3 separate regions of the Homo sapiens genome follow, and all the other regions are linked to region 2. Evidence: promoter capture Hi-C in human tissues and cell types (Jung and others, 2019). All regions are on one chromosome and are shown on one strand. Each heading gives the region's core, a stretch centred on a gene start or on the middle of the fragment in contact. The rest is flanking DNA. Distances are from core to core; before and after follow the strand shown.

What was found. Contacts are between HindIII fragments. The study calls those that stand out against the background at their distance.
Region 1: a contact is called between the fragment with the promoter of ZNF141 here and the fragment with the promoter of CTBP1 in region 2, in 1 of the 25 tissues and cell types used here (lymphoblastoid cells).
Region 3: a contact is called between a fragment that was not itself captured here and the fragment with the promoter of CTBP1 in region 2, in 1 of the 25 tissues and cell types used here (dorsolateral prefrontal cortex).

The regions. Positions count from the first base shown.
Region 1 is chr4:335,322-339,127 of GRCh38, forward strand. It overlaps ZNF141 (zinc finger protein 141), which reads left to right and starts at 2,493. Exons shown (of 4, transcript NM_003441.4): 1 at 2,493-2,665. The coding sequence starts at 2,663. RefSeq lists silencers at 1,203-1,262, 1,493-1,602 and enhancers at 1,617-2,132, 2,238-3,198, 2,243-2,342. The HindIII fragment of the contact is 20,671 bases long and covers 1-3,806 here.
Region 2 is chr4:1,246,785-1,250,379 of GRCh38, forward strand. CTBP1 (C-terminal binding protein 1) reads right to left here and starts at 2,346. Exons shown (of 10, transcript NM_001012614.2): 1 at 2,132-2,346. CTBP1-DT (CTBP1 divergent transcript) reads left to right here and starts at 2,656. Exons shown (of 2, transcript NR_033339.1): 1 at 2,656-2,688; 2 at 3,327-3,595. RefSeq lists silencers at 1,235-1,954, 2,125-3,054 and enhancers at 3,425-3,474, 3,535-3,595. The HindIII fragment of the contact is 11,440 bases long and covers 1-3,595 here.
Region 3 is chr4:1,913,223-1,916,873 of GRCh38, forward strand. NSD2 (nuclear receptor binding SET domain protein 2) reads left to right here. Exons shown (of 22, transcript NM_001042424.3): 4 at 3,649-3,651. Among named protein-coding and RNA genes, the nearest start is that of NSD2, 44 kb to the left of the region's middle. The HindIII fragment of the contact is 3,229 bases long and covers 740-3,651 here.

The DNA of each region.
Region 1 (3,806 bases), core at 1,243-3,742, 910 kb before region 2:
AGCAGAAAAAACCCAGCAGCACAATAAAGTCGACGTTGAAACTCTTCTCATCTGCAATGGCTGCCTGGCCAGGCCATAGACTATGCACTCCTGGCAGAGGGGGTGCATGTCATCCAGCATAAACACCCAGACAGGCTCACAGGGAGGGACGAAGCTCTGCGATTGCTGCCAATTGAGGCTTAAAGTTAAAGGGAGAACAAGACCCCCTCAGGTCCAGACCCAGTGCCTGGGCCCACAAGTTCAGATGGCAAGAGGCAGCACACTTCAGTGAACAATTGCACCCACCCACCCACTCACCTTCTCTCCTCACCATCCTGCCTTCTCTGCAGGCTAAGCAGTCCTGCAGGGCATGTATGAATCTGAATGAGAGAGTATGCAGGAAAGAGAGAAGGGAAGATTACCAGGACTGGGCCCCAGCCAAGGATTTGACATCACCTTATTTGCCTACTATAGGGATGAACTAGGTGGTCAAGTGGCCGTATTATTTCACTGTATTAATACAAATACACCTTCCAGCCCTGGGAAGCAGCATACAATTGCCAAGAGACGTTAGAATGCTGCTGGAGGATTCCAGGGTCTCACAGTCTGGATTTTAGAGTCCTGAATTTTAGACTTTTCAAGGACATGTGCTCCTCTGGGGTTCAGGCATAATAGACTATATTTACCGATGGTGACTGTGTGCATGACGCCATAACATGTTACACTATTAACTCACTTAAGGGACTCCATGAGGCAGGTACTGCTATCTTCACTTTACAGAGGACACTGAGCACAGGCAAGTAACTTCCCCATGGTCACACAGCTGGAAATAGCAGAGCAGCTGGGATGTGCACCCAGAGTCTGTGTACTTAGCCACAGTGCAATCCTGCATAACTACAAAACAAACTTATGTGTGTGAGCATCTATCCGCCCAAGCAGACAAGTGTCAAACTACGCGAATGCTGTCCAAGCACTGCGTGAGCATACACTTCTCTGAAAGCGTTCTGCTCATCAACAGGGCCAGCCAGTGACTTTTCTGATCGCTTAATGCACCTATCCAGTCTCTTCACAGGCGGCTCCTGGGGTCTGCCGGGGGTGCTGGCGTCGGGTTGGCCCTGGCGCTGTCCCCAGCCCCCACTCCCCAGGCCCTGCAGCGCCATGAGGTCGGACTCCTGGGCGTGTCCTGGGTTCTGACCCACCCGCGACGCCAGCTGCCCGCGCCCGGAGCGGATGGGCCTGGCCCGGCTCCACCCCGCGGGGCTCCGCGGCTCAACGGGTCGCCCAGGGGCGCGGGCCCGGCTTCGTCCTCGACGGTGTCCGCCCCGGCCCTGGCTAGGCCGACGGCAGCCGGGTCCGGGTGGGGCTCGGGCTCGGGGCGCGCCCCTCCCATCTCTCCAGGGTCCGCGTCCTCGCTGCCGCCAGGTCCCGCCGAGATCCCCGGTGGCCCCGGCTCCAGCGGCTGCAGCGTCGCCATCGCCGGGCAGACCCCGGCCGACCTCAAAGCGACCGCGCGGTGGGGCCGGCGGGGACTGGGGCTGCGCAGCGCGGCCTGGGGTGGGGGCGGCGGGGCCCCCAGGAGCTCCTGGGAACCGAGGGTCCTGGGGCGGTCCCGCCCCGCACAGCTCCGGGTGAGCTTGGGGAGGGAGACACACTCTCAGCCCACCTCGCCCCGCCCGACAGCGCTCCGAGTCCTGAGTCCCCTCACCCCCATTCTACAGACACGAAGGTGAAGCCAAAGACGGGACGCTCACTTCCTGAGAATTTGCTGCCTGCTGCGTGGACACCACCGACCTATTGTTTACAGCGGTCAGGGACCCGCCCCCCAGACCCCCAGGACCGCGCTTCCGGGGGAGGAGGGTGTCCTCAGCAACGGTGACCCGCACCAAAGCCCTCCTCACCGGGGTCACCGCCACAGCCGGTGCGAGGCCCGCAGGGCGCTGGGGATGCGCGACCGACTCCCGTGAACCTGCTCCTCGCGCGTCAGGGAGAGCTGTGCACCCAACTAGGCTCTGTGAGGACGGACTGAGGTCGGCCTGCAGGCTGCGGCCCCGAAGGCAGGATTTGTGGAGAGATGATTCGCGAGCCTTGGAGGAAGGATGGGCTGTGCGTGCGTGGGTGCGTGCGTGTGTGTGTGTGTGTGTCTGTGACTTTTGTATGTTTATGTGAGACTGCGTACGTGCGCGCGTCTGTGTGTGCGCGCGCGCGTATATGTCTGTGTGTGTGCGTGCGTGTATAATTTCTAAATGGACGTCACCTTACACATCACAAGGTTAAAAAATGACCCCTGGGCTGTGCCAGGCCAAGCACGAAGAGAAAGCCCCGCCTGAAACTGCCTGGAGGCCCCCCGGCTGTCACTCTCGCCACATTCCGTGGAGTATGTGGTTGCAACTTCTGTCACTCAAGGTCTGATGGCGGGGAGATTGGAGCCGTATCCAATCAGCGCACTGGAGTGAAAACTGCCCAATCAGGCACGCAGCCAGAGAGGAGGCGGTGGCTTCCGGGATGTGGCGCGGGTCTTTGCGTCTGGCTACTACCAGACCGCGGGTTAGGGGCTTCATCTCTCTGCGTTCTCAGTTGTGGGAGGCCTTGGTGATTCGGCCACAGCTCAGCCTCCGTCGCTCTGTGACCTGCGGGTATTGGATGATTGGTAGCTAAGACTCCCGAATACTTCAGAAGTGGGGAAATGGTGAGTGTGCGGGGCAGGGCGTCCCAAGGCTGAGGAGGTCTCATCGGAGCTGGCGGGAAATGGCGGCGGGACCGAGTCTGCGAACGGAGTCCCCGCTGCCGCCGCTCAGCCCTGGGGCCTCAGTACCCTCCGGTGAGGGACCTGGGCTCCTGTCGGTCCCCGCACAGCGGCTCTGGCCCAGCCTGCAGCCCTCCTTGTGCAGCTCTGCGCCCGCAGCCCCGCACCTTCCCCAGGCTGTGGGGTGAGGAGTAGCTTATCTGGAAGCCGCCCGCGCGGCGTGCGCGATGCCGGCGTGGGAGGAGCTGTGGGAGAAGCTGTGGTCTGGGGATCCCGTCCCTGCTTTACCCTGTTCGGAATGAGATCGAGGCCCCATCAAAACAGAGTTCATGTGAGCAAATGGGGACTCATTAATGGGACAGCGCCGGCCGTGGCTCGTGGTTTGGGGGCTGCCAGCGGGTCTTGAAGGAAAAGCTTTTGTGAGGTGTGTGAGGAAGCGAAGCAAATCACCCGCCCGCTCCAACTTGCCCACCAGTCTCCTTGCCCTGTGCGCCTCCTCCGCGTGGCTGTTCCTGAGTGGCATCTTTTAGAATACGCTAGTGTGGGCGCGCACAGCGCTTCGCTGAGTTCTGTGAGTAGTTCTGTCATATTATTGAACTTGAGGAGGGTGTGGGCCCCTGGTTTGTAGACAGGTGTTCAGAAATGAAGACGGGTGTCCAGAGGCAGGGACTGGCGTCTGCAGGGGGGCAGCTGCGGGAAGAGCGCTGAGCTTGTGGGGTCTGTGCTGACTCCGGGTGGTGTCGTTAGTGAGTTGTTGGACAGCCCGTTGGGGTCGGAGCATTGACTGGTGTTGAGCAAACTCCTCACGTTTCCTGTCAGAAGAAAGACATGGCTGAGCCTGGGCTGGAGGGAGTCGCAGGTGTCCGCGGGAGACCAGCCGGGTTCTGCACATGCACTGTCCTGCTGCGCACTGTTCTGTTCCTCCAGGTCTCCTCCCGGGGAGAGAGGGCGCTGAGAACTTGGAGGAAAGGAGTTCTGAGAAACATCCCTTCCCTGCACCCTGCTGCCAGCCCCCACCCAATGCTAACCCACTCCTGAGCCCGCCCATTGGGCATTCGCACGGCCACACTTGTCCCAGGACAGG
Region 2 (3,595 bases), core at 1,096-3,595:
CGAGCCTGGGGCCCGTTTCCTGGAGAGCATGACTACTTCTGTCCAGGGTTCCTCCAGAAAAAATTTATTAACAGAATGATGGTTAACAGTTGCTGTCTGCTTACACTACAAATGTCCAAAGAGTGGGGGGCTCCCAGCCCTTGGGGGAGGCAGACAGGACGAGCCAGCACTTCCAATCCCACCAGGACATGGCAGGGGGCCGGCTCTGCGCCAAGCCCACAGGACTGGACCAAGGCTCGTCCCACTCATCAGAGGGACAGGACCAGCCCACAGTCCTGTGCACCCCGGGCCAAGCCTCTCCTCCCCCACTGCCACGTTCTCAGGTTAATGACAAGCGAGTAAAAGGGAAGATCCTACTCGCTGACATCCCCAACCACACGCCCACCTCTCAGAACTAACAGCTGCCCTGGTCAAGGCTGACAGGAAGAAGTGCATGTTGGGGACATGGCAGACACCCCAAAAATGGCCGGGCAGGCGGACGAGGCACCCCCAGGAGTGACCAGATGCCACCCCCAGTGCGTGTCCCTCCCAGAGCTCTGCAGAGGACGCCTGTATGGAAGCAGGTGCTCAAAGATGGGCAACAGAATCACAGAGAGCAAAAGGCGTCTGCGGAGCCGACAGCCCCAACCAGGAGCCAAACCCAGACCCCAGAGGGAGGTGGCCAGGCCCGGGCAGGCAGGGGAGACCTGGGAGGCCGGGTGCTGAGGCCCAGGGCAGAGCCACGCCCTACAAAGTTCCAGGACACAGAAAGGGGGACCCCCAAACCGCAGCTGTCATCCTCAGCTGCAACGGCAAATAGTTACCCCACGGTTCTCCCCCAACCCTGCCCCAAGCTGCAGACGGGTACACAGACGCGCAAAGGCCACGCGCTAGGAGCTCAGCGAGGACGGCCGCGGTGCGGGCCCAGCCGCCAGCGCCGTTTTCTTCCCGAGGGACGTGTGCTCCCTGCCGCGCTCCTACAGAAACGGTGGAGAGGCCGGGGAGGGGGGGGGGGCTCGGGCTCAACGGAACACCCTGCGCACCCGCCGCCTCGGCCCTAGCTCCAGGCCCTCTTGCCCCAACTCTCAGGGTTTCACCTCCCCACTCAGGGCACCGGGAAGGGCGCGACCGCCTTCCCTTTTCCCCACTGGAAGGGAATTCTGTCCCGGCAATCACGGAGACGACAGCAAAAGGGATCTGGCCCAGGCCGGGCTTCCAGACACCGGCGCCCTTGGAGGCCGCCAGAGAACGCTCCAGTCTCGGCCCGGGGCTCAGGCGCACGGACTCTGCCTTTGCAGCCGGGTCGAGGGAAAGAGAGGCTCCGCGCAGCGGCTCGGGCCGGCCCAGGACGCGGGCGCTGCAAGATGGCGATGGTGGCAAGCCCGGCGCCCGCCCGTGCTCCCTGCTTCCGCGGCCGCAGCCCGCGAGGAAGGCGCCCCGGGACCTGGGCGGGCCCAGGCAAGGGCAGGTGGGGGCGCTGGGCCGGTCCGGGACCTCGCGGAGTTCGCGGGAACGGAGACCCCGGGCCCTCCCGCGTCACCGCCGGGGGCTGCGCTTTGGGCCCGGTCTGAGGGCAGCGGCCTCCTCCACGGTCATACCCGGCACCCGCGCCCCGTCCCCTTCCCCCACAGCGCGCGGCCACGGTCGCCGGCGGCCTCCCCGCGGGAGGCGCGCTCCCGCGAGTGGCCCGGGAGCGCGCGCCCCAGGACACCCCGAGCTGCGCACGGCTCCCGCCCCATCCCGGCCCCGCAGGCCCAGCCACGGGGTCATGACCGGGGACGGGGTAGCGGCCGGGGATCGGGACCCGGGGTGCCGTCCCGGGTCCGACGGGGCTGGGGTCGGTGGAGCTGGGGGTCCGGCGGGGCAGCCCAGAGGCCCACAGGCCCTTTTGTGTCACCTGCACGGGCCGCGGGCGGGGAGAGCAGACTGCGGCGCTCGCGCACACGCAGCGGCCCGCGCATGCGCAAGACCCTTCCCGCGGTCCCGCCCCCGACCGCGGCCACGCGCGGACGCCGGCGCGCACGCGCACTCGCACACAAAGCCGGCGGCCCGCGGGCGCGCGCTCGGTCCGCCCCCGCGCCCCCCGCCCGCGCGGCACCCGCCCCGCCCCGCCCCCGCCCGCGGCCGGAAACGCGCGCGCGCGCGGCCTTACCAAGCGGCAGGCCCTTGTTGAGCAAGTGCGAGCTGCCCATCGAGAGGCGCGAGCGGCCGCGGGCCCCGACCACTCCGGCGCGCTGCGCCGCCGCGAGCCCGGCGCGTGGGGCGGCCTCGGCGCCGTCCGCTGCTCCGCCCGCCCGCCTGCGCCTGGCCGCCGCCGTGCCGAGTCTCCGCCGCGCCGCTGAGCCGCGCTCCGACGACCGCGCGGGCGGGGACACGGCGGCGCGCGCGGGCGGGGCCTCGCGGTTGGTCTCCTGGTTCCCAGCGCGGGCGGCGCACGGACTCACGCGGGCGGCTCAGGGCCCGCCCGGCCGGGACGCGGCTGCGGGGCGGGGCGGGGCGGGAGCCTGGCGGGAAGCTCGCGGGGCTGCAGCCCGGCGGAGGCCCCGGGCCTGGTGTTCCGCACGTTCTAAACCGCCTGTCCCCGAGGAAGTCGGGCAGGGTCGGGCCGGACTCAGCGCCGCTGGCGGGAGCGCCGTCCGCCCCGAGGACCCTGCGGGCCCGGAAGCCGAGACAGGGCCGCCCACGTCAGCGCCTGGCGCGGGCCCGAACGTAAATGGCGCTCCTCCGCGCCGCAGCCGCAGCCGCCCCGCTCCCTTCCCGCTCCGCCAGCTGCCGCCCTCCCGCGCTCGCTTCTCGCCCCGCGGCCTGGCCCGTGCGCCTCCGAGGCTGGCCAGGGGCACCGAGGCCGCGGGCCCCCCATCGCCCCCACCCGAGCCCTGATTTACCGTCCGAGAGCCGGCGGCACATGGGACCCCGAGAGGAGAAGCGCGCCTGCCCCAGTGCGTCCCCAGGCGGGGGAGCCCCGACTCCTGGAGGGACCGCGTCCTGCCCGGCCCGGGAAGTTCAGGGCTGGAGAACCCCTTCCCCGACCCCATTTCTCTTTTAACAAGAGTAGGGTTTGTAGCTAACCAACGTCCTGACAGCTCAGCTCTGCTTTCCCTTTAAGCATTAATATCAAAGCCCTGCCTGCTACCGGTGAAGCCCCGACCCGGGAGGGCCCGAAAGTCCCTTCAGGGAGAGGCCGCACTGGGCCTGCTCACCCAGGGGCTGCCCCTGCAGACTCTCCCGAGGGGCCCAGGGATATTCCTCGCGCCGCGAGTGGACGCTTCCATCCACCCCATGGGGAGGGCCTCTGCGCGTGGCTACTCTGAGCCCTCTGGAATGCCGAGATAGTTGCATAATTTCAGAAACCACGGCATGGAGACGGAATGATGCAGACTCCTATCCGCGAGATACCTGCTGTAATTTCGCTGTGGTTCGTGAGGACGCGTCCTGGGCTGCCCTGAGAAGCCTACGTCTCCCCTTCGAGGCCCGGGAAGACCTCCAACCCCGCTGACAATGCTGGGCCCTCAGCCAGACCTGCCCTGCGTGCCACGTTCTGTTCTAAGATCGGGCTGCCGAGCTGTGGCCTGGAGGAAACCTGGCAGGTGTCACCAGAGCTTTGGGGAGGGTGAGG
Region 3 (3,651 bases), core at 1,104-3,603, 670 kb after region 2:
GCGGTAACGCCAGTGCCTGGGAAGGCACCTGTTACTTAGCCGACCTTGGTCTAGCGGTAGCGCCAGTGCCTGAGAAGGCACCCGTTACTTTGCAAACCAGGAAAGGGAGTCTCCCTTTCCGTGGGGGAGTTAGAGAAGACTCTGCTCCACCACCTCTTGTGGAAGGCCTGACATCAGTCAAGCCCACCCGCAGCCATCCAGAGGCCTAACCGTCTCCCTGTGATGCTGTGCTTCAGCGGTCACGCTCCTGGTCCACTTTCATGTTCCGCCCTGTACATCTGGCTCCGCCTTCTAGATAGCAATAGCAGAATTGGTGAGAATATTAAAGTCTTTGATCTCTCTGAGAAATGCATAGAAGAAATAATGTAAGCTGTCCCCTCTCTCTCTCTGCCTCGGCTACCAAACAGGGAAGGGCCCCCTGTCTGGTGGACACATGACTCGCTTGACCTTACCTATCATTGGAGATGACTCACACTCCTTACCCTGCCCCCTTGCCTTGTATACAATAAATAACAGCGCAGCCAGACATTCAGGGCCACTACCAGTCTCCGCATCTTGGTGGTAGTGGTGTCCCCTGTGCCCAGCTGTCTTTTCTTCAATCTCTTTGTCTTGTGTCTTTATTTCTACCATCTCTCGTCTCCACACACGAGGAGAAAAACCCACAGGCCCTGTAGGGCTGATCCCTACAGTTCTATGCTGTGTTCTTTCTTGGTTAAGTTTTCTTTTTTCCTGGAGGCTATTTTTGGTATCTTAAGACAGTTTGTATGGGAAGTAAATTTGAGTCCTTGCAGTTCAGAGTATGCTACTTTTGTTTTTGTGAGGTGGAGTCTTGCTTTGTCGCCCAGGCTAGAGTTCAGTGGCGGGATCTCAGCTTGCTGCAACCTCTGCCACTTGGGTTCAAGTGATTCTCGTGCCTCAGCCTCCCGAGTAGCTGGGACTACAGGTGTGTGCCACCGTGCCCAGCTCATTTTTGTATTTTTAGTAGAGATGGGGTTTTGCTATGTCGGCCAGGCTGGTCTCGAACTTCTGACCTCAAGTATTCTACCCGCCTTGGCCTCCTAAAGTGCTGAGATTACATGTGTGAGCCACTGCACCCAGCCCAGAGTATGCTACTTTTTTTTTGAGATGGAGCCTTGCTCTGTTGCCAGGCTGGAGTGCGGTGGCACGATCTTGGCTTATTGCAGTCTCCACCTCCTGGGTTCAAGTGATTCTCCCGCCTCAGCCTCCTGAGTAGCTGGGACTACGGGCACACGCCACCATGCCTGACTAATTTTTTGTGTTTTAGTAGAGACAGGGCTTCACCATGTTGGCCAGGCTGGTCTCGAACTCTTGATCTGAGGTGATCTGCCCACCTTGGCCTCCCGAAGTGCTGGGATTACAGGCGTGAGCCACTGTGCCTGGCCCAGAGTATGCTACTTTTCTATCTTCACACTTGATTGATGGTTTGACTGGGTGTAGAATTTTATGTTGAGAAGAATTCCCCTAGGAATTTTGAAGGTATTACTCCATTTCCTTCTAGCATCCAGAGTTTTTGGCCATTCTTCACATAATTTGCTATTCTTCACATACCTTGCTATTCTATTTCTTGTTCCATTAACTTGGAGGCTGGCCTTTCACCCAACCCCCAGCAGCTTGAATTTCAGCAGGGTGTGCCCTGCTGTGGATGTTGCAGTGGGACACTTAGGACTGTTTTAGTTGGAGACTTGATTTTGGGTTTATTCTTGGAGCTTCTCTGTTTCTCCAGAAAGCCTATTATTTGGGTATCAAACCTCCTAGATTGATCTTACAGGTTGCTATGGAAATAGGTATTTTTCATCTTAATTTTTTTCTTCTTTCTGGGAGATTTCTTATCTTCCAAGCTTTCTTGTTGAATTTTTTCTTTTTTTCTCTTTTTTTTTTTTTTTTTTTTTTGAGACGGAGTCTGGCTCTGTTGCCCAGGCTGGAGTGCAGTGGCGCAGTCTCGGCTCACTGCAAGCTCCGCCTCCTGGGTTCACACCATTCTCCTGCCTCAGCCTCCTGTGTAGCTGAGGCTACAGGCGCCCACCACCATGCCTGGCTAATTTTTGTATATTTAGTAGAAATGGGATTTCACCGTGTTAGCCAGGATGGTCTCGATTTCCTGACCTCGTGGTCCGCCTGCCTCGGCCTCCCAAAGTGCTGGGATTACAGGCTTGAGCCACTGCACCCGGCCTGAATTTTATTTTCATAGTTGTATTTTAGAATTTCAAATATCTCTTTGTTTTTCTGTGTTCTCTTTTCATAGCACACAGGGTTTCTCTGTTGGGTATCTTCTCTTCCCTTGCCTTATGTCTGTGGCCCTGCAGAGGGCCATTCATTTCTGTGTGTTTTGGATTCATTCATACTGGATGCTTCCCTGGGTCCAGGGGTTCCTTGGTGCTGGGCTCGTGTTTAAGAGCACGACACTTAGAGCTGCCTGCAACCATGGGTGGGGAGGCTTGGTTATCCACCCTCCTTTGCATTAGAGGGTCTGATTGGCCATTGACCACTTAATTGGGGGAATCTCCAGAAGACTCACTGGAGAGGTTTTTCCTCTGGAGCACTTCAGGTCTTCAGGAAATATCCTTTGATTCATCTGGGCCAGTGTTCTGCATGAGGGGACAGGGAGTGGTAACTGCCCCCACCCTGTGCCAGGGAGATCCCCCTCCCTCCTCTCACCTGGCACAGAGATCTGACCTTTTAACCTGCTTACCTGTATTCACCTTCTCATTTGACTTCAGTGGAATCTGGTACCTCCTTTCTTTTATTTTGGGCCCGTCTCTTTCTTTCCTCATCCCCCTGGCTGCACTGTGGGACGTGGCTTCTTCCTCTCAGCTAAGAGTAAGACTAGTGGGCATCTGTGGGGTTACTCTGTGGTCTGAGCTGCTCTCTGAGGCCACTGATGCTCCTGTCACTCTAGCACTGTGAGATAGGGGGGTAGCTAGCTGGTAGGTAGCAGGGCTGGGATTTGAACCCAGGTTGTGTGATGTCCGTATACTGCCTCCTTCACTGCCTCTCTCACTCCTTTCTTGCACATGTCCTCTTGTCTTATTTGGTATCTTTTTAAGAGGGAATAAAGGAGTGCATTTAGTCAGCTAGCTAGCTTTTTTCTTTTTCTTTTTTTTCCTTTCTTTTTTTGTTTTTGAGACAGGGTCTAGCTCTGTCACCCAGGCTGGAGAGCAGTGGTATGATCTTGGCTCACTGCAACATGTGCCTCCCAGGCTCACGCCATCCTCTCACCTCAGCCTCCAGAGTAGCTGGGACTACAGGTGCACACCACCACACCCGGCTAATTTTTGCATTTTTCGTAGAGATGGGCTTTTGCCATGTTGCCCAGGCTGGTCTCGAAATCCTGAGCTCAATCTCCCTGCCTCGGCCTCCCAAAGTGGTGGGATTACAGGCGTGAGGGACTGCGCCTGGCCTGGTTGGCTTTCTTTCCCATTCAATTTTGAACCTTATCTGAGTCTCTTGTAAGTTAATTAGTTTCCCTCTTTGGCATGTGGCATGGAAGGGATAAGAAGTATAGAATTTGTTTTGAGGTTAACAGGCTCAGACAACACCAAGGGAAACAACTGCAAAATAGCAGTAGATTTGACTAGTTTCATCCCAGATTCTAACTTTCATTCTCTAACATTTTATTTTAAAAACTAGGTC